Linked DNA regions of Homo sapiens: all the other regions are linked to region 4. Evidence: promoter capture Hi-C in 16 types of primary human blood cells and fetal thymus (Javierre and others, 2016). All regions are on one chromosome and are shown on one strand. The core of a region is centred on a gene start or on the middle of the fragment in contact, and the rest is flanking DNA. Distances in the headings are between cores, read along the strand shown. Region 1 overlaps FAM81A (family with sequence similarity 81 member A). Region 2 has its middle 43 kb from the start of GCNT3. Region 3 overlaps LOC124903499 (a long non-coding RNA gene). Region 4 holds the start of SLTM (SAFB like transcription modulator). Region 5 has its middle 71 kb from the start of GCNT3. Region 6 has its middle 130 kb from the start of AQP9. Region 7 has its middle 75 kb from the start of AQP9.

Region 1 (3,056 bases), core at 307-2,806, 570 kb after region 4:
TACCTGATAGTGTTTATCTAGGAAGCTTATGTTTGGACTGGAAAATAATGTCTTTTAAAAAAACTATTATATTTTTTATTTCATAGTATTTTAAAAACCTCAGCTTTCCCCAAATATGATTTCAATAATATTTTGCTAAAAAATTATGAACTCAAAATAAAAAATCAGGGTCTACATTTGGCATTATTTTTAATCATCATTGACATGGGAATGATTTGTGAGGATTAATGAAATAATATATGTCAAGTATCTAGTACAGTACCTAGTACATAGTAAATATTTCCTTATATTCATTCATTCACAAATATTTATTAAGCCTCTACCATATGCAAGGCAATAAATAAAACTAGGGTTTTAGGTGATGAAAGAGGCATATATAATGTCTCCTTGCATGCAGTTTACATTCTAGAACAGTTGTTGCAAAGTAAGAGTCTATAAGAAAGTTGGAATAATTGAGCTGGTAGCTTACTTTCTTTAGAGTCAATAATAAGTTTACCACAATTTTATCCATTTACTCACTATTGTTTTTTGCACCCTACTCCTTCTTTGTGGGTGTTCTTTTCTCTTTACTGAAGTACATTCATTAGTAACTTTTTCAGTATTGGCTTGTGGGTGATATTTTTCTAATCTTTGCATGTTAGAAAAAGTCTTTATTTTGTACTTATTCTTGGATGATAGGTTATTTACCCTCAATACTTAGAAGATGTTTCTCCATTATCTTCTGATATCTGTTGTCTCCTATATCTATTGTGGGCTGTCAGTCTTATTGTCAGTTTTTGGTAGCTTTGGGTAGGTTACTTCTCTTTAGTCTGTAGCTTTTAAGATTTTATATTTATCATTGGTTATCTGAATTTCCCCATGCTTTATGTATTTTTACTTATCCCAGTTTGTAGTCATTGAACATCTTAAAATTCATGTCTTTCTTCAATTTTAGAAAATTGTTGGCATTCACACCTCAAATATTGCTTCTTTGCCATTATCTCTATTTCCTTCTGTTGGAACTCCTCCTTGACTTATGTTAACATCCCTCTATTTGACTTCCATGTTTCTTAACTATTTTTTCATGTTTTTAATCTCTGTCCACTACATTCTGAGTGAGTTCCTTGCTACTATCATTGAAGCCACTGATTCTATCTTCAACTATGTCTAGTCTAGAATTAAGACAAGGGCTGGGCGCGGTGGCACACATCTGTAATCCCAGCACTTTGGGAGGCTGAGGCGGGTGGATTGCCTGAGGTCAGGAGTTTGAGACCAGCCCGGCCAACATGGTGAAACCTCATGTTTACTAAAAATACAAAAATTAGCCAGGCATGGTGATGTGTACCTGTAATCCCAGCTACTCAGGAGGCTGAGGCAGGAGAACGGCTTGAACCCAGGAGGCAGAGGTTGCAGTGAGCCGAGATCACGCCACTGCACTCCAGCCTGGGTGACAGAGTTAGACTCTGTCTCGAAAAAAAAAAAAAAATCACAGAAAGGCGTCATTGATCATCTTAGCCACCTATAGCATGGAAGTAAGTGATTTGCTGGATGGTGTCTGCCTGGAAGTGGATGTACACCTCACATCTGCAGTTCACCCCTGTGTCTGCCCACCACTGACAGGGGAGAATAAAGGGTTCTCCTCTTCTACCTTCTGAGTCTTGTATAAATGACTCTCACTGTCAGAATCTAACTCCGAACCCTTCTGGCAATGACGTCTGGGAAGTATAGTTTGGGGCTTCAGTCCCTACGAGACAAAGAGCATTTACAAGGAGCAAAAATGTTGTGTCACTTAAGAATGATCCATTTATGTAAACTCTTTTCCTTGTCACTAATCCTCCAGTTTTTTTCCTAAGTCTCTAACCATTAGCCACTTTCCTTGAATGTCTGGCCATCTCTTATTCCAGGCAAAATGAATCTCCCAATATATTGTTAGAAATTCTGTCTTCCTAACAATCTTTAGGGCTACTCCTAAGTGGACTTAGAAGCATCAGCAGTCTTATTCCAGAAGGTGTCAGCATACTGGGTGTGACCATCTGTAAGCCAGGCCTGACTTTCTCCCTCAGTCCACCTGGTCATCAAGAACTCTTCTAGAAGCCACAGATTTTTTTGTTTGTTTGTTTTGTTTTGTTTTGTATTATCGTTTTATCTTTTTGTAGACACAGGGTCTTGCTATGTTGCCCAGGCTGGCCTTGAACTCCTGGGCTCAAGCAATTCTCCTGCCTCAACCTCAGCCTCCCAAGCAGCAGGAGGGAGAAGATGAAGAAGTCATAGGCATGGATTGAAGGAGAGTTGGTGCAGTAGCAGGAATAGATGCCATGGTGGGAGTCTGTGCTCTTGTAACTTACTTGTGCCTTTTGAACCTGCTTGAACCCTTCCCCTTGAAGATGGAGTGCTGTTCTAGGCCCACCTTCTAGTGTGGTATTCATGATGGATTGCTCCGATTGCAGAGTCACCTAATGGCATTCTGTCTCTACTGAGCCCAGTAGCAAGCCAGCAGCTTCTTCTCAACAGAGGAATATTGTCTCAGAACAGAGCATTAGTTAGCTCTAAACTCTTATGGGTCCATTCTGTGACTCTCCTATTAGGACTCGACAGAGGCCCCACACAGCTCATCTGCCACACATACTTTGAGTACCATTGGATCTGCCAAGTTGCAAGGCCCACAGGGCAGCAGCTTTTACTACAGCTTGAACTGGCTGCAAAGCCTTCCCCTGCTCTACACCCTACTCATACTATACAGCCTTACGAGTGATTCAGTCAAAGTTTAGAAGTAATATTTTCTAACATGGTAGAAGTTTCCTCCCAAATCCAAGGAGGCCCCCAACTTCGAAAGGCAGGGGTGGTACTGAAGAGTGACAGACCACATCCAGCACACTAGCTATGCTCTTTGTATTGGCCTCTCGCTGCACATACAGTGTTGTACTCATGATCGTTGGAAAGACTTTATTTCTTTGGTGGTTACATCTCTAGCCTTATTAAGCAACATCCCTGTGGTTTACCTTAAAAACCATAATGAGGCCAGCTCTTGGAATTCATTTGAACCTCTGTTCAAAAGAATGATGGATAGTGCACTTTCT
Region 2 (2,705 bases), core at 107-2,606, 630 kb after region 4:
ATTCTTCACTATCTCTTTAGCTATTAGATGTTTTAAGCAGATTGAAAAAAAAATTGTGTTGACCTTTTCTAGTTGTTCTGAACAGGAGGGTTAGTTCAAATGGTCGAATTTGCCATTACTGAAAATGAGAGTGTTTGTAGGCTTTTTGTATTATTAAAATTTTGAACTGTGTGAATTATTTTTTAAATTAAATTTAAAAATTCTTTTAAAAAGAAAACTAATTTTCTCAGTGAATTCAGTTGTATTTCTCTGAATTATGAGCCTTCAGCAAAAGTTCTTGATTGCATTAAATGGCTGTTTCAAGTCCAGAAATTCTAAAGAGAATTAGTCATGTATTGCTTTATGATGGAGATACATTCCGAGAAATGTATTTTTAGGTGATTTAATCATTGTGCAAACATCACAGCATGCACTTACCCAAACTTAGATGGCATAACCTACTACACACCTAGACTTTATGGTATGGCCTATTGCTCCTAGGCCTGTTGCTTCTGGTGGTGCATACCTGTAGTTCCAGCTACTTGGGAGGCTGAGGCAGGAGGATTGCTTGAGCCTAGGAGTTCAAGGCTGCAGTGAGCTAGGATTGAGCCACTGTACTCCAGCCTAGGAGACAATGAGACCCTGTCTCAACTGAAAAAAAAATGAAAATGGTACACCTGTATTACAGGGTACTTACCATAAATAGAGCTTATAGGACTGGAAGTTCTTTTTTTTTTTTTTTTTTCAACAATAACATTTTTCTTTCTTTATTTTATTTTATTTATTTATTTATTTTTGAGACGGAGTCTTGCTCTGTCACCCAGGCTAGAGTGCAGTGGTGCGATCTCAGCCCACCTGGGTTCAAGCGATTCTCGTGCCTAAGTTTCCCGAGTAGCTGCGATTACAGATGCCCACCACCATGCCCGGCTAATTTTTGTATTTTTAGTAGAGATGGGGTTTCACCATCTTGGCCAGGCTGGTGTTGCACTCCTGACCTCCTGATCCACCCGCCTTAGCCTCCCAAAGTGCTGGGATTACAGGTGTGAGCCTATCCGCACCTGGCCAGAACTGGAAGTTCTTTGGGTGAGTTAGTGTGTGAGTGAGTGGTGAGTGAATGTGAAGGTCTAGGACATTGCTGTACACTACTGTAGGCTTTGTAAACACTGTACACTTAGGCAACACTAAATTTATAAAATTTGTCTCATTAATTAACCTTAGCATACTATAACTTTTAAATAAAAAACTTTTTAGGCTGGGCGCAGTGGCTCACGCCTGTAATCCCAGCGCTTTGGGAGGCTGAGGTGGGTAGATCACGAGGTCAGGAGATCAAGACCATCCTGGCTAACACGGTGAAACCCCATCTGTGCTAAAAATACAAAAAATTAGCTGGGCATGGTGGCATGCGCCTGTGGTCGCGGCTACTCAGGTGGCTGAGGCAAGAGAATCGCTTGAACCCGGGAGGCTGAGGTTACAGTGAGCCGAGATTGCGCCACTGCACTCTGGCCTGGGCGACAGAGCAAGACTCGATCTAAGAAAAAAATTAGATAGTCTAATCTGCAGTAAATTCTTATCTACAGTAAAAATTAGCCATTCTTATGTACAGTAAAATATTCTTATCTGTCAATGACCTTTGCCTTTTATTTCCCCAACCCAAGTTGTTAGAGCTTGATTTTTTTCTCTTTTTCTTCCTTCTTCCTGCCTTCAATTAACTGAAAGTCAATATAGGTGATAATTAATAGCTGTACTTTCCCGGTGACAAATGGAACTATAGTGTGTGCACACATAAACAAAAGTGCAATCTGAGAAATAAGATGGCAAAATATCAATCTGGACTAATGGTTACATACTAAGAAAGGAGTGGGGCAGGAGCACCAGTCGAGAACGTGCATTTTACTCAGTGCCCGGTGTCATCCCTTACAGCAGGCTTTTAATTTTCACTCTGAGAAAGGTTTCAGGAGATGATGCACTTACATTATGATTCCAGATCCTTCCTCTTGGGGGTGTGTTATTCAGAGAGGTACTGTGGTGCATGCAGTAGAACACCTCCAATTATTACTTAGGGGGAAGCCCATTCTTTATCGGACAGTTGCAAGTACTTCAAAGCTCTTCTGTAGAGTTCATGTCTGTTACTTCGACTCAGAAAATGGGCCCTGAAGGCCCTTTGGGTAGGGAGCATAATGCCACCACTGAAATCCTGTAACTTGAGGAAAACCTGAGGAAGAAATCCTATGATTTAAAGAAGGTTCAGTGATTAGCTGAGGGCTGATGGGAGAGGGGATGCCACGAGGCCTGCTGGTCTTCAAGGAAAAGGCCTTTGCTGGAGTGGCCTGGCTCCCTCACCTAATCTGACCTCCTATCTCTTGCACGGAGAAAACCTTGCTGTTATTATTGTCCTCATCCTCCTGTGTGGGCTCGCTCCTCCTCCCCCCATTTTTTAAAAGCACCCCACCCTACAACCTCATAGTCCCTGCACGCTCGAGTCAGGAGGATGGCATCGTCTCTGTGCTCTCCACGTCTGCTTTCAGTGGTTTGATCGCTTCCTCTCAAGCCACCACCAGGCAGCCCTGTTGCCTGCTGTGTATACTTACTGCCACCGCCTCCAGGTCTCTTCCAGATGCCCTGGGCATATTGGTCCCTGGATCTCAGGCTTGCCCAGCACTCAGTCCCTGGCAGTCATCTGGAGCATCTCCAGTGTCCAGATGAGTGACTTATCCAGCATCTGGCCT
Region 3 (2,816 bases), core at 211-2,710, 700 kb before region 4:
TCAAAACCAGAGTCCAGCTCAGGAGCTCAAGCTCTGGGACTCACTGTGTCTTAGTCTGGATTTCCTACAAACCAAACCCAAAGACTAAATTTTTCTTGCTAACTCTTCACTGGGGAACGCAATCCCCAAAAAGCAAGAATGATGGAAAGGAGGGAACAAGGCAGGGAAGGAGGGGGAACAAATATAAGAGAGGGTGCTCCCAAGCTGGCCATGGATTTGTAATGAGTAAAGATGTTTGCTTTTCAGTCTCTTAACGATCCAACTGAGAGCAAATAGGAAAATTTATCTGCTGGTTCCCATTTCCAATGGTCGGACTTGCCCCATAAGATTTTATCCTTCCTCCCCTATGCTTCTTGGCTGCTCCATCTGGCTCTTCCAGAAGCCATCAAGGAAGCCAGATCCCACTGCAGCAGCAGCAGCAATGGCAGCCAGCAAGTGTGCATGGGCCAGTGGCACACCCACAAGCTTGCACAGCTGCCTGCAGTGTCTCAGACCCTGCTCAGAAAGCCATCAGGCAAGTGCAGGTGCTGGGTGCACCCACAGTCTCATGCCTTAGTGGGAACAGGGAAGTCCTAGGGAAGGAAGTGAATGACAGTTGCATGAGGTATGACACAGGTCCTGTTGAATCATGCCTTCATGTGAGTGGCACGAAGGATTGGAGCAGCTGCCATGGTGGGCCTGGCCAGCCAAGAAAGCAGTGCTCCACACTGGTGATGACAGAGTCAGAACTCAACAAAGGTCAAAAGTCCCCTCTGCAGCCTTTAAGAGTGTGGTTGGGGCCAAGTGGTTTTCCTGGGGGGCCATCAGTGAATGGCAGCCAGTCCAATCAGGGGGACACATGGTTGGGTACGGCACTCTGCTATGCTGATTCTGCAGAACTGAATGCTGACAATGACTATCTCAATACAGCATTTGCCACTATGTGCCAGGCACTACTCTAAATGCTGCATGTATATTATTTGTTTTAATCCTCATAGCAATGTCATGAGGTTCCTCGGGATTTCCCAGACAAAAAAACTAGCCCAGAGAGGGTTAGTAAGTTAATCAGTGCCATAGCTGCTATATGGTGGAGTCAGATTTTGAATCTGGGCCATCCAACTCTGGTGTCAGTACATTTCACTATCAAAAGCCTACTGACCTGTTGTTGAATGGTCAACAAACAAATTAAGAAAGACCTCCCAAGAGGTGAAAATTTGGAACATCGGGAATAAAAAGATGATTCTAAAAGCTTCAAAGGGAACAAATCAATAGAATTAGAATCAGAATAGTGTTTGTGGTCTGAACTACAACATAAAAGCCAGGCAACAATGAAGCAATGCCTTCAAAATGTTAAAGAAGATAATTTTTCAGCCTAGAATTTTACAACAAGGCAAATTGAATCAAGTATGAAAACAGAATGGACATTTGCAGACTTGTTTAGACTCAGATAATTGACGTTCCTTTCTTAAAAGTGCCTGGAGGATAGGCATCTTGGTTACAAGGAAATAATCAAGGAAAAAGAAAACATGGCATCCCAGAAACCTAAATCCAACCTAGAAAAGCTATTGAGAGAAGATCCCAAGTTAATCCCAAGTGTGGCAGAACTAGAGAGCCACTAATCCTCACTGGTGCAGAAGAGATAGTGCTTCACGAAGGAGTGTCCAGGAAAAAGTAGACCCACAATAGAAAGGGTGATGCAATAGGTGATATGATGAAGCTTCTGGAAAGAAGATGCAATCAGGCAATTATTAACTCAAGGAATGACCAAAGCCTATTCAAGAAAAAATATGGAATCCCAGTATTCTAATGGGTTCTGGAGTGAACAATACAATACTTACATTGTCATAATGGTTTAAAGACCTATGATTGATATAACTTAAAGTGTGGTAAAATTTGGGTGAGAGGCTGAAGAGAGGTGGAGATATTAAATCTTCATCTCTGATAACATTTGTAAGTTTAAATACTGCAATATACCCACGTATTTAAATGCACACGTAACTCAGAGAAACCAGCTAAAAATTCAAAGCATGTCCCTTAGCAAAGAACCAGCAGCCGGTGTGGGTTTGTTCAGGGAACTACTGCTTTGTATTATAAGCTTTTTAACACTGTTTGATTTCTTAATTACGTAAATAATTACCTCAATTTTTAAAAAATATAAAACTCCTCTGTTCTAAAAAGAGCAAGCCTGCAAGAGAAGTTAATGCAATTGAAAGCACAGCCTCATGAACCCCCTAAGTTTCCCTTGTAGTTCACCTCCTTGGCACAGACCAACCCTTCATGAACTCCCCTCCCTTGACTCACTCATGTCTTTGGTTTGTGCTCTGTCTTTGGCTTTGAGCAGCTGGTATCCTTTCATTTCCCATTCTGACATCCGCCTTCCATACAAGGTCCCAATTCACCTTTTGTCTTGAACCTTGATAGCTCAACTTTTTTCTTTCACCCTGCCTTTTTCCCCAACTTCTAAGACAAGTGACTCAGAAATGTGGCTTTAAGCAAACAATTATACGAAATATAATCTGTTGTAACTACTAATTTATCTCTGTGACTTTGGCCAAATCACCTCACTTCTCATAGTTTCCTTGTCTATGAAGTAAGAGATTAAATCTCGATGATCCTAAATCTTCCATCTCCACTGTTCTGTGATTTATATTTGGATCTTAAGGCTGAGTTGGCAAAGGTCTATAGGAATAATCATAAAGGAAGTGATGCCATCTATTCTATGATTAAGGAAAATAATTTACTGAAGATTCATATTGGGTTCTGTTCACTTTAAAAAGAAATGTAGGCTGGGCATGCTGGCTCATGCCTGTAATGCCAGCACTTTGGGAGGACAAGGC
Region 4 (2,987 bases), core at 355-2,854:
TCTTCACACTATGAAGCATCATTACACAACTTGACTTTGTAATTTTTTCCGGAAGCAATAAAGAACTGTTCTCACTTTCTAATCAGCTTCAGCCGAATCTTAAGGGCTACAAGTCACCCAAAGCCTGGCAACAGTAACTTTTCTTCCTTGACCCAAGAAGGCAGACTGCCAGAGGGAAATAGCAAAGAGTAGCACTATATAAACAGGGCAAGAGGCACAAGAGCAGAGGCAAGTTATATAACCAAAATATATTTTAAAACATGTTCATAACTCGTAACAACCTTTGCCTTTAGTTGGTTTCTTGTTTGGAGTATCAGTTGAAACAGTTAATTCAATATTATCTGGATCGCCTCCTTCCTCTTCAATAGCCTACATTAGAAAGAGAAGTTAATATGCTACACAATCTATCTAAACTTATTTTATAAAAACGAAATGAAAAAAAATTTAGCAAACCTCAAGCCTCAAGACATTAGAATTGCCAGTCATTTCATCAACCGACTTCAAAAATGAGCAATTAAACTACACGAAAGAGTGAGAGAAACTTTCAGGGGAAAAAAATCATTAGGTATCAAAATCGCAAGGAGTTTTAAATTCTACCGTGTCAAGATAATTAAATATCACATCATACTGGCCAAAAATCCAAATATGTTCTATTGCAGAAAAGTTGCTAGCTACTAAAGTAAATAACTAAAAAGAGTTTTCCTAGTTTCTGTAATGCAAACTTACTGCTCCTCTGCTACAATTCCAACGCTCACTCAAACCAGAAAGCTAATCAGGAAAGAAAAAGTAATTATTGCGCTGATGCAAAAACTAAAAGCCTAGTGGAAAACAAAAACTCTGTCACCCACCCATCAACTCCCACTACCAATTCCCCCTCAAGATGGGGAAGAAACGGTTGGGCACAATTAAACGGTAACTTCGCAGAAGTCACCAAAGTAACCATTCCCTCTGAGGCCAAGAAATGCACACGCTCACCATGGCTAAAGGCTGGGGAGCCAGCGCCTCCCAGGTCTCCGCGATCGCCCTTGGGAGGCCGCGCCGGCCGGCCGCAACCCTCGCAGCCTGGCGGGGACGTCCCGGGGAGGCGGAGGCACGCTGGGCTGCGGTGGCCGGTCCCTCGCAGGCCCGGCCCGGCCCGGGGCGCGGGGCGGGGGCACCGCGGAAGGGTCCCCGTCCTCCACGCTCGCGGGAGCCGCCCCTGGCCTCCCTACCATGCCGTTCCGCAGGTCCCAGCGGCTGCGGGCAGCCGGAGGCTGCGGCGGAAGCGGGGCGCCGAGGCGCGGCCTAAGTTCCCCTTCCCGGTCCTTTCCGGTCCTCGCCGGGCCTCACCTGCTTGAGTCGGGAGATGAGCACGGTCTTGACTCCGGTGATGTCTAAGTTCCGCCGCTTCAGCTCGGACTTCAGATCGATGACCCGCAGATCGGTGATCTTTTTACCTTCCGCCTGACCCGAGGCGGCCGAGGCTGCCACCGCACCGGTAGCGGCAGCCATCTTAGAAGAGCAGCGCGCTGCCGAGGCAGCGAGTGGGCTGCAGGGCGGCGGCAGCAGCGCCAACTTCCACCCAGGCCTCGGCGGCCGCCGGCGCCGCGCAGCGCTGCGCACAATGAGCCGCTGGCCCCTCCCCCGGTCCGCCACCCTAGCGCAACCTGCAGCAGCAGCCGCCAGCACCCGGATGACGGCCGCGCGTGCGCGTTGGCGCAGGGACCGGCAGCGGCGCGCTCGGTCGAGCGGGCCGCGGCCACTTGGGCGGTGCGCTCCCTTGTGTGGACTGGGAGGTCGGGCACGTCCTACCGCAGCAACGTCCGCCGCGCCGCCGTTCTCTCGTCGCTTCGTTAGCCATTTTCTTGCAACGTCTTGAGTCTTGAGCAACAACGATGTGCGGGCACTGAATGACATAGTGCGCGCGTTACTCAACACAAACCGAGGGGGCGCGTGCGCGCGCTGAACCTCTCAAGGAAATACTTTATCAGTTCTGCTGAATAATCGAAAAATTGTCGCCGGTGTGCACCAACGAACTAGGTTCCCCGAGTTCCATTCAAAAGACCTCAAAGCAGTTCTAGGGCTGTTAGTCCAAAGAATAGGAAGGGCTGGCCTTTGACACATGGCTCATTGGCTGTCTCAGGAGAAAACATCATCGCCCTGCCCATGGCAGCTTAGGTTATTCTAGGGCTGCCCTTCCTCACTTGAAAAACAGGAAAACTTCTTTCTTGTTGGCCTCAGGTTTGCTATCCTCCCCGGTAGACCTGATGGCTCAACACGAAATTGTTCAATGAAAGAGAAAACTAGCTTATAAGTACTTGTTGCCGTTATCATATACTGTGTTCACTATTTTGCCCCCCAAAATTTGGGATTCCAAGAACAGTGAGCATCTTCTTATGGAGGATCGGCCTGTACAAGTGAGTACCTATTTGTAATTTTACCTTGTATTATTCATTATCAAAGTGCAAGCATTGATAAAATAAAACGATTCTATAAATTCCATAAGGTGATTATGATGCACAATTAACTATACTGTATTTCCTGGTTTTACAACTTAAATTCCTGAGATCTGACTCACTTTAGGTTACTTTTTCTGATTGGCTCAAAAAAAAGGAAGACTGGACATTATAAAAGAATACCTGACATTAGGGTAGTTCTTTACAGTTTATAAGGCACTTTGACGTACAGTAACCCCCTTAATCCTTCCCAAGTCTGTCAAGTAAATCTCCGTGAGGCTTAGAGAGATTAAATGACTTGCCCATGTTCACACAGCTGGTATGTGGCCGAGCTGTGCTCAAATCCCAGGCTCCTGATTCCAAATCCAGCTCTGTCTCTGCTACAACATTGGATTCACAATAATAGAAGTTTAGAATGCAAGACTCCTTAGAAATCTTCTGGCCCATCACTTGAGGTCAGGAGTTCAAGACCAAACTGGCCAAGATACAGGGTTTAGTAGAAACCCCGTCTCTACAAAAAATACAAAAATTAGCCGGGTGTGGTGGTGAGCA
Region 5 (2,983 bases), core at 44-2,543, 610 kb after region 4:
CTGGCTAGTAACAAGTTTTGATGAAGATGTGAAGAAATTTGGAAACCTCATATATTGCCAGTGAAAATGCAAACTGGTGCAGCCCCTTTGGTTTCATTTACTTATTTATTTTTGAGATAAGTTTTCACTCTGTTGCTCAGGCTAGAGTGCAGTGATACAATTATAGCTCACTGTAGCCTCAACCTCCTGGCTCAAGTGATCCTACCCACTCGGCCTCCTGAGTATTTAAGAGTATCAGTGCAGGCCACCACACCCAGCTATATATTTTTTATATATATGTATGTGTATATATACACATATATATGTGTGTGTGTATATATATGTGTGTGTGTATGTATATGTACGTATATATGTGTGTATATATGTACATATATATATACGTGTATATGTGTGTATATACATACGTATATGTGTATATATACGTATATACGTGTATATATATGTGTATATATACGTGTATATATACGTGTGTATATATACGTGTATATATACGTGTGTATATATACGTGTATATATACGTGTGTATATATACGTGTATATATACGTGTGTATATATACGTGTATATATACGTGTGTATATATACGTGTATATATACGTGTGTATATATACGTGTATATATACGTGTGTATATATACGTGTATATATACGTGTGTATATATACGTGTATATATACGTGTGTATATATACGTGTATATATACGTGTGTATATATACGTGTATATATACGTGTGTATATATACGTGTATATATACGTGTGTATATATACGTGTATATATACGTGTGTATATATACGTGTATATATACGTGTGTATATATACGTGTATATATACGTGTGTATATATACGTGTATATATGTGTGTATATATACGTGTATATATATGTGTGTATATATACGTGTATATATATACGTGTGTATATATACGTGTATATATATACGTGTGTATATGTGTATATATATACGTGTATATATATACGCGTATATATATACGTGTATATATATATATATATATTTTTTTTTTCTTGGTAGAGGCAGGGTCTTATTATGTTGCTCAGGCTGACCTTGAACTCCTCAAGTGATCCTTCTGCCTTGGCCTCCCAAAGTGCTAGGATTACAGATGTGAGTCACCATGCCACACCCTGGAAAAGAGTGTGGTAAACAGGCAGTTCTTCAAAATGTTGAGTATAGAGTTCCCATATGACCCAGCAGTTTTACTGCTAAGTGTGTACACCAAAGAACTGAAAACCTAGGTCCACACAAAGACCTGTACAAGAATATTCATAACATGACAAAAAGGAATTTGAGGAAATCTAAAAAAAAAAAAAGAATATTCATAGAAGCATTTTCATAGTAGACAAAAGGTGGGAACAACACAAATATTCATCAACTGATGAATGGATAAATAAAATGTGGCACATAATACAATGTAATATTATTCAGCCGTAAAAAGGAATGGAATTGTGATCCATGCTACATCATGGATGACCCTTGGAAAGATTCTTTTTTTTTAAAATTAAATGTTTTGAGACAGTATCTCACTCTGTTGCCCAGGCTGGAGTGCAGCGGCCTGATCACGGCTCACTGCAGCCTGGATCTCCCAAGGTTCAGGTGATCCTCGTGCCTCAGCCCCCAAAACAGCTGGGAATGCAGGTGCTCACCACCATGCCTGACTGATTTTTGTATTTTTAGTAGAGATGGGGTTTCGCCATGTTGCCCAGGCTGTTCTCAAACTCCTGGGCTCAAACGATCTACCCACCTCGGTCTCACAAAGTACTGTGATTATAGGTGTGAGACACCACGACCAGCCTGGAAATATATCTGAAGTGAAGGAAGCCAGTCACAAAAGACCACATAGGGTAAAATTTCATGCATTATAAAATGTTCAGAACAGGCCAATCTATAAACACAGAAAGTGGCTTGGTGGTTTCCAGAAACTGGGGTGAAGGTGGAATGATAAGTGACTGCTAATGCGGACAAGGTTTCTTTTTGGAGTGATAAAAATATTAAAACACTCTCTACCAATAACCTGGAGGAAAATAAACACTCAACATCCATTTAAAAATGTAATAAAGATAAAGACGTGGTTGTGCCTTTGGGTTCAAAATATAACTGGGTTGAAGTGGATGTCTCCTGCTGCCTGGCCAGCCTGTGCCTTCTTTTACTAGGGTGACAGCCTCTGGCTTCTCTTGAAGAACAAGCCCCGGTTCTGTGTGGTTCTGGTGGAAATGTTATTGAAAGGACTCCTTACCTCCCACTAAGGGGCAAATACTTTGGCTTGGAAATTTGAACTGAATTAAATGGCCTAAGGAAACTGTTGAGATGGAATCATTCTCAGGATAGCACTTGAAATCTTTCCCTCCTTCCTTCCTTCTTTCCTTCCTTCCTTCCCTTCCTCCCTCCCTCCCTCCCTCCTTCCCTTCCCTCCCTCCCTTCCTCCTTCCTTCCTTCCCTCCCTTTCTTTTTTTTGAAACAGAGTTTCACTTTTGTCATCCAGGCTGGAGTGCAATAGCATGATCTCGGCACACTGCAACCTCCACCTCCTGGGCTCAAGTGATTCTCCTGCCTCAGCCTCCCAAGTAGCGGGGATTACAGGTGCCCGCCACCATGCCCAGCTAAGTTTTGTATTTTTAGTAGAGATGGGGTTTTGCCGTGTTGGCCAGGCTGGTCTCGAACTCCAGACCTCCCAGTCCTGCTGCCTGGACTCTCCTGGAGATTGTTAGAAGCCCTAGCCCAGACCTCCTGCATCAAATTCTGCAGTTCAACAAGATCCACAGGTGCACTGTATACTCTTTAATGTTTGAAAAACTAGAGCAGAGGTTGGCAACCACAGCCGCACATTAGAATCACCTGAGACACTGGAAAACCCTCCCAGTGCCCAGCAGCACCCCAGATCAATTACATCAGCAAGTATGGTCTAGGCATCAGCATCATCGTAAAGCTCCCCAGCTGATTCCAGTGCGCAACCAGGGCTGAGAGCACCTGGGG
Region 6 (2,700 bases), core at 159-2,658, 670 kb before region 4:
CCCAGATCTGTTTTGTTGAGCTCTGCTTCTAGGGAAACTGACTTAAGACACACACACAGATACACGTATACACACACACCTGAAATAAAATTTTGAGTAAACAGTACTTACACTTACTTCATGTCATGCACTCTTATTTTCTGTACTATTCTTTTTTGTTTTGTTTTGTTTTGTTTGAGACAGAGTCTCGCTCTGTCCCCTATTTTTTAATTGCTTGTTTGTAACCCTCTAATTTTATTTCATAATCCATGAATGGGTCACAGCTCTGCAATTTGAAAAATACTACACTTTATAAGCAATCTAGGGATAAAACAAACAAACAAACAAAAACCTACACTTCCCTAACCTTTCCAAGTTAACCTTCTGGAGACTGGTGTACTGCAATCCAAAAGGTTCAGGACAGGGTGGAGTGAAGGGAATCTGTCATGGTATGCACGGCATTGAGAGTTTTGAGACTCAGGAGATATATTCTCCTAGGGCCAAGTATCTAAAGTAGCCCCAAGCATCTACTGCCTTCTGACTGCTGAGAAGGGCACCAGCCTCCCTCCGCTCTATCCTTTCCCCTGCAAATGCATTCACTTCTGTTCCAAGAGATAAAGCAGTTTTTGACCTTACATAAATACACAGAGATGTACATAAGAAAAGTTTATTTCAGCATCATCTATGATGCCAAAACCAAAACATCCCAAATGGCCCTCAGTAAATGCACCTCAGTACAACCAGACAAAGGAACACCATGTGTCCATTAAAAATAATGAAATAAGTTATGTAAGTACTGAAAACTTTCCATGATACACTAACTGCAGAAATCAATTGGCCCTACAGTTCTCCAATGTAATTTCATTTTTATTTTTGTAAAGTTAGTATGTGTATGGTAAACATATGGAAAAATAGGCTCAAAATTATTTGTGGTAATCATCTGCGGGGGCATGATTACGGAACACTTTCTTTCATTTTCTAAGTCATACATTTCCATAGCGTTTGAACTTTTTACTGCAAGCATGAATTATTTCTAAAATGAGAAAAAGCAATACCTTTTCATTTAAAAAAGGCAAAATACAAAAAGAAGGTATTTTATAAGGTGGCATCGTAAGTTCCTTTGAAGGTACAATAGCAGTCCTTCAGCGAATAAAGTATGCATTCAAAAGTGAGACAGGAAACATTTCTGTAAGTTCATGCCCTCAGATAACATCTTTGCTCCAACATATAGACATATCAGATAAAGAACAAATGGAGAAGACTTATACACTGTAGTGAGACTCAGAAACCAGATAAACATCCCTGTGTACTACAAATGACAAGAAAGCCCACCAGGAGCTGGACTGAGGCCAGGGCTTTGGTGCCTGGTTCTGAAAGCTCAGATGGTGGCTCCCACAAGGCTGTAAGGGCTAAAAGGGGTAGGGATGGAGGGAGTGGAAAGTCAGGGTTTGGGGCTCCCAAACCTTCTGGAAAGCTAGAAAATGCTGCCTGGAACATTGTTTTGTTTTAATCAAGGGTTTGTTACCCTGGCTGCATCTTTAACTTGATAAGTTTTTAGAAAAATACCACTGCCCAGAAATTCTGACTTAATTTCTTTAATTCTTTCTCCCTCTCTCTCTCCTTTCCCTCCCCGTTTCCCAGTCCCTTCCCTCCTTCTCCCTCTTCTCCCTTTACTCCTCTCTCTTCCCCTCCTAATCTCTCTCCCTCTTCTCCCTTTACTCCTCTCTCTTCCCCTCCTACTCTCTCCCCCTCTCCCTCTTTCCTGTTTAAAGGACTCCTTTGGAGATTGCAACATACATCCAGGATTGATGTTAATTAACACCTTGGGCTTAGGGGTCAACGGATCCAGACAAAGGCTCTGCCCAGGTACTCAGCCAAGCAAGCAGCCAGCTTGAAGATGAGATTTGGGATTTGCCCCCATTGTGGGTACTTCTGAACATCAGCAAGGCCTGCTTAGGGACTGGAGGCCCTGGGGAAGGGAGTGGGGTTTAGGAGGGAGCCAAATACTGCTATTCAGAGTGAGGTAATGGGACAGAGAGACAGACAGGGAAAAAACATGTTCCTCCACAGGCAAACGGATGAATACATGATGTACTCATATAACAGAATGTTATAGAGTGATGAAGATTTGTAACCCAGCATTAACATGGCACCAAAGTGGATATCCCTCAAAAACATAATGCTGAGTTATAGAAACATTTTACAGCATGGTTTGTATGTTATGATGCCATTTATTTACATTTTAAACACTAGGAACCAAAAACCATATATTGTTTTGCAGCTAAAACTATTAAAATATTCATGAGATTCTAACACACTGACTTCGGGGCAGGGGTTCCCTTTGGCAAGGGAGGAAGAGGAGTGGGGTTGAAGAGAGGTGCACAGGGAAGAATAAATGGGAACAAACCGTGGGTACCCGCACTGCACAACTTGGGTGGATCTGAAGGCATCGTGCTGTGTGTAAGAAACTGGTAGTAAAAGGTCACATAATTTATTACTCCATTTATGACATTTATGAAAAGACAAAATTATAGTGATGAAGAATAGATTAGTGGTTGTCAGGAGGAAGATGGGACTACAAAGGGATAGTCCACCAGGGTGGTGGGGTTCTTCTGTATCCCAGCTGTGGTGATGGTAACGCAAATCTACACGTGCATTAAAATTCACAGGACTGGCCATGCTCAAAGGCTCACGCCTGTAATCCCAGCACTTTGGGAGGCC
Region 7 (3,083 bases), core at 434-2,933, 720 kb before region 4:
AGTAGCTAGGATTACAGGCGTGCGCCACCACGCCTGGCTAATTTTTGTATTTTTAGTAGAGACGGGGTTTCACCATGTCGGTCAGGCTGGTCTCGAACTCCTAACCTCATGATCTGCCTGCCTTGGCCTCCCAAAGTGCTGGGATTACAGGTGTGAGCCACCACAGCCGGCCCAGGCTAGCTGAACTTCTTACGTGGCACTAGCTTCTAAGGGCACAAAAATCAAACTTATCAGGCCTTCTTGAGGCTGAAGATCAGAACTAGCAAAGAGTCACCTCTGTCACATTCTATGTAGGTCAAAGAACCTACCTTCAGGATGGGAGGGGACTACACAAGGACAGGAATACCGGGAGGTATCATTCATTGGAAGCCGTTTCTGTAATCCATCGAAGGGAGACAACCAGGTTTATAATGACTATTGCTCAAAATCATGTATAATGTGAAAGACTTAAAGAAGTTTGGAGTTTTTAGCTTGGATATGATGTTCTATAGGTTCAAAAGAGCTATTTTGAAATTCTTGGAGGACTGTGCACAGCAGAAGATGTAGATATATCCTGTATAGCTCCAAGGAACAAAATTAGGACTAGAGGTGGGTTTCAAGTCAAATGCTAAGCACTCAATGGTCAGGGGTATGGAGAGATGTTTGTTTGTGTAGGAAGTCATAATAGATAGCCTCTAAGGCCCATTTCCACTCTTGAAATTTAAGCTTCTAATTACATGCCTCCTCCTGTTAATTATTTCTGGGTGTATTAGTCCTATCTCCTTAGCCAGGCTTTAAATTGGAGAAACTGAATGAATAAATAAAACACAGTTCTAGAATAGCTTCCAGTCTTAGCTCTGCTAGCACTGAGCTGCTGCCTGACTTCGGGTAAGTCATTTAATGTCCCTGGGCCTCAATTTCTTCATCTGAAAAAGAAGGGGATTCTATTCTAACCTCCCACCCAGTGCAACATGAAGATAATAAATGGCAACTTTCATAGTTTTGCTTTAAAAGTCAAATGGAAATGAAAATAGATAAAATGGTTAAGATAATGCCTGGCCTATTGTTAGTGCTTTATAAATATGAGCTCTCGTTGTCTCTCTATTATGACGTTTCTGATTCTACAACTTCCATGTTTACAATAGAATCCTGAGATACTTCAGACCTTCACTTCTTTTGCTCTGCACAGTGATCAGAAAGTGACTCATAATCATCGCTAGTCTAGGTCTCATCAGGTGACCAGGAGTCCACCATGACCTTGTACAGCGCAAGCCCTTGATAAATGATTCAATTAAATTCAAAAGGGCTTGGGCAGCAAAAAGTGTCCTCTTGCTCCATGCCCAGCAGAGGGAGCAGAAGAAAAGGAACAAATCCTTTCTCAGCTATGTACTAAACACAAAGGAAGACAGAAGGCTGAGGGCTTCTAGAGGTCTCCTTATCCACCCACCCCTCTCCCCTCATTTTGTACATTGTGAAACTGAGACCAAGAGAGGAAAGGGGATTTCTCAACGTTACCAACCAATAAGCGGTAAGACCCTCAGAAAGACAAGCCATGTTTTCAGGCCCAGGTCTGGGGCCTTTGACCCATGGTTGTTCAATGCTATCATGTTGATTTCTTTCTTTTCAAGGAAATCAGCCGTGGGTAACCGCAACCTCACCATTCTCTTTTGCCCCAGTTCTCTGAGGGCTTTGGATTTGAATTCGGCTCTGCTGCTAACTTGGGCAAGTTCCATAGCCTCTCCAAGATTCAGAGACATATTTTTTAAGTAATTATAATAATTTTATTTATCGTAAAATTTGGAAGGAATAAATAAAATGATGTAATGTAAAACTCCTTGTAAGGCATCCTGAGTGCATGAGTTGCCATAATAGATGTAAATACCTATCCTTGTCAAAAAAGAAATCGTTTCACCAAAATGAATTGAAACTCTATGACACAGGTCTCAAACTCAGAGGCTGCTGGGAGCCAGCCATTTAAATAAAGCCGTCTGGATATACAACAGGGACTTCTAAGGGTGGCAGCAAACTGCAGAGCTCACAGCCATGGGAGATAAGCAACGTTTAACAGGAGAAAATTCAAGCCCAGGGTTGCCAGATCTTCCCAGAGAAGTTGGAAATCAGGGATTTCATGTGCAAATTTCTTATTTTTAAAAATATTATACAGATGAAATAAAACCCAGGCCAGCAGCTTGTTATGCCTGCTTTTAAAAAGCTAATTTTAGAGTTCCATATGCAGAGACACACACCATACTACAAATGAGAAACTCAGCCCCATAAATTCAGGAGAAGAGATGATGTCTGTCATTTGGAGGGAATGTGCCAATAATATCAACCCACAGACTTGTTTTTCTAAAAGGCCCTTACTCAGCAAATACATTGAACCTCTGGGGCTTATGTTGCAATCTCTGGAATATCCTCCAACTTTCCTTGATGACTTTTGATTTCCTGCCCGTTCCGTGCCTAGTACCATTTAAGTTGCTGTAGTCTTCCAGCTTGACTGTAAATTATACATTCCACATTGATATGCTTTTTCTCTAAAAGGTAGAAAATAACATTTTACAATTTTATATATAACATTCATTTTTATTTAACAGCTACCTTCATTAGATATTCACTGAAAAGAGGTCCATTATAAGCAACAGCTAGATGGGGGACAGGGCTGACTGTCTAGAATTTTTTATACCAAGCTTTCCAACACACATTAAGAATAAAAATCCTTTTGTTCCAGTCAAAGAAGGAAAATAAACTGTAGGTACATCAGAAAAGGAAAAAGAAAATGCAATGTTAAATGAAAACACAAAAAGGGGGTGGGGGAAGGACGGATTCGGAGAAAAAAAGCAGAAAAGTTAAATCCAACCTTGAGGATTTCTCGGTTATTTTTACTTCTCTACCTAGGAAGGCTTAAGCCCCTTAATTTATGCTTGATTTCCATTGAGCATCTCCACCACTAGTTCCCTTTCTTTGAGGGGAAAAGGACCCAATAGGAAACACGCTTACTTTTCATTGTTTAACTACCTTGCAAAATGTTCTCGTGCAAACTCAGCATGGTGGTTTAATTTATAGGTTGGTGTGTTTAAAGCTACCCTTTTGCAGAAGGCACTACC

What was found. The method cuts DNA at HindIII sites, captures the fragments that hold promoters and counts their contacts. A CHiCAGO score of 5 or more calls a contact.
Region 1: a contact is called between a fragment that was not itself captured here and the fragment with the promoter of SLTM in region 4, in 17 of 17 cell types (total CD4 T cells, naive CD8 T cells, activated CD4 T cells and 14 more). The highest score is 24.6, in total CD4 T cells.
Region 2: a contact is called between a fragment that was not itself captured here and the fragment with the promoter of SLTM in region 4, in 1 of 17 cell types (neutrophils). The highest score is 5.3, in neutrophils.
Region 3: a fragment that was not itself captured here is called in contact with the fragment with the promoter of SLTM in region 4 in 6 of 17 cell types (total CD4 T cells, endothelial precursors, total CD8 T cells and 3 more); the score reaches 7.8 in total CD4 T cells.
Region 5: a fragment that was not itself captured here is called in contact with the fragment with the promoter of SLTM in region 4 in 8 of 17 cell types (naive CD8 T cells, total CD8 T cells, total CD4 T cells and 5 more); the score reaches 10.0 in naive CD8 T cells.
Region 6: a fragment that was not itself captured here is called in contact with the fragment with the promoter of SLTM in region 4 in 1 of 17 cell types (naive CD4 T cells); the score reaches 6.0 in naive CD4 T cells.
Region 7: a contact is called between a fragment that was not itself captured here and the fragment with the promoter of SLTM in region 4, in 2 of 17 cell types (fetal thymus and erythroblasts). The highest score is 7.8, in fetal thymus.

Annotation. Positions count from the first base shown.
Region 1 is chr15:59,504,063-59,507,118 of GRCh38, forward strand. All of the region lies in intron 4 of FAM81A (family with sequence similarity 81 member A), which reads left to right. Among named protein-coding and RNA genes, the nearest start is that of FAM81A, 67 kb to the left of the region's middle. The HindIII fragment of the contact is 3,067 bases long and covers 24-3,056 here.
Region 2 is chr15:59,567,152-59,569,856 of GRCh38, forward strand. No RefSeq gene overlaps it. Among named protein-coding and RNA genes, the nearest start is that of GCNT3, 43 kb to the right of the region's middle. The HindIII fragment of the contact is 2,941 bases long and covers 1-2,705 here.
Region 3 is chr15:58,231,889-58,234,704 of GRCh38, forward strand. The region is part of intron 1 of LOC124903499 (a long non-coding RNA gene); the gene reads left to right. Among named protein-coding and RNA genes, the nearest start is that of AQP9, 95 kb to the left of the region's middle. The HindIII fragment of the contact is 468 bases long and covers 1,227-1,694 here.
Region 4 is chr15:58,932,075-58,935,061 of GRCh38, forward strand. SLTM (SAFB like transcription modulator) reads right to left here and starts at 1,605. Exons shown (of 21, transcript NM_024755.4): 1 at 1,330-1,605; 2 at 282-369. The coding sequence starts at 1,491. RefSeq lists silencers at 962-1,221, 1,592-1,771 and enhancers at 1,272-1,511, 1,802-1,941, 1,962-2,051. The HindIII fragment of the contact is 26,250 bases long and covers 1-2,987 here.
Region 5 is chr15:59,538,839-59,541,821 of GRCh38, forward strand. No RefSeq gene overlaps it. Among named protein-coding and RNA genes, the nearest start is that of GCNT3, 71 kb to the right of the region's middle. The HindIII fragment of the contact is 5,264 bases long and covers 1-2,983 here.
Region 6 is chr15:58,263,037-58,265,736 of GRCh38, forward strand. No RefSeq gene overlaps it. Among named protein-coding and RNA genes, the nearest start is that of AQP9, 130 kb to the left of the region's middle. The HindIII fragment of the contact is 4,002 bases long and covers 1-2,700 here.
Region 7 is chr15:58,211,798-58,214,880 of GRCh38, forward strand. No RefSeq gene overlaps it. Among named protein-coding and RNA genes, the nearest start is that of AQP9, 75 kb to the left of the region's middle. The HindIII fragment of the contact is 1,961 bases long and covers 704-2,664 here.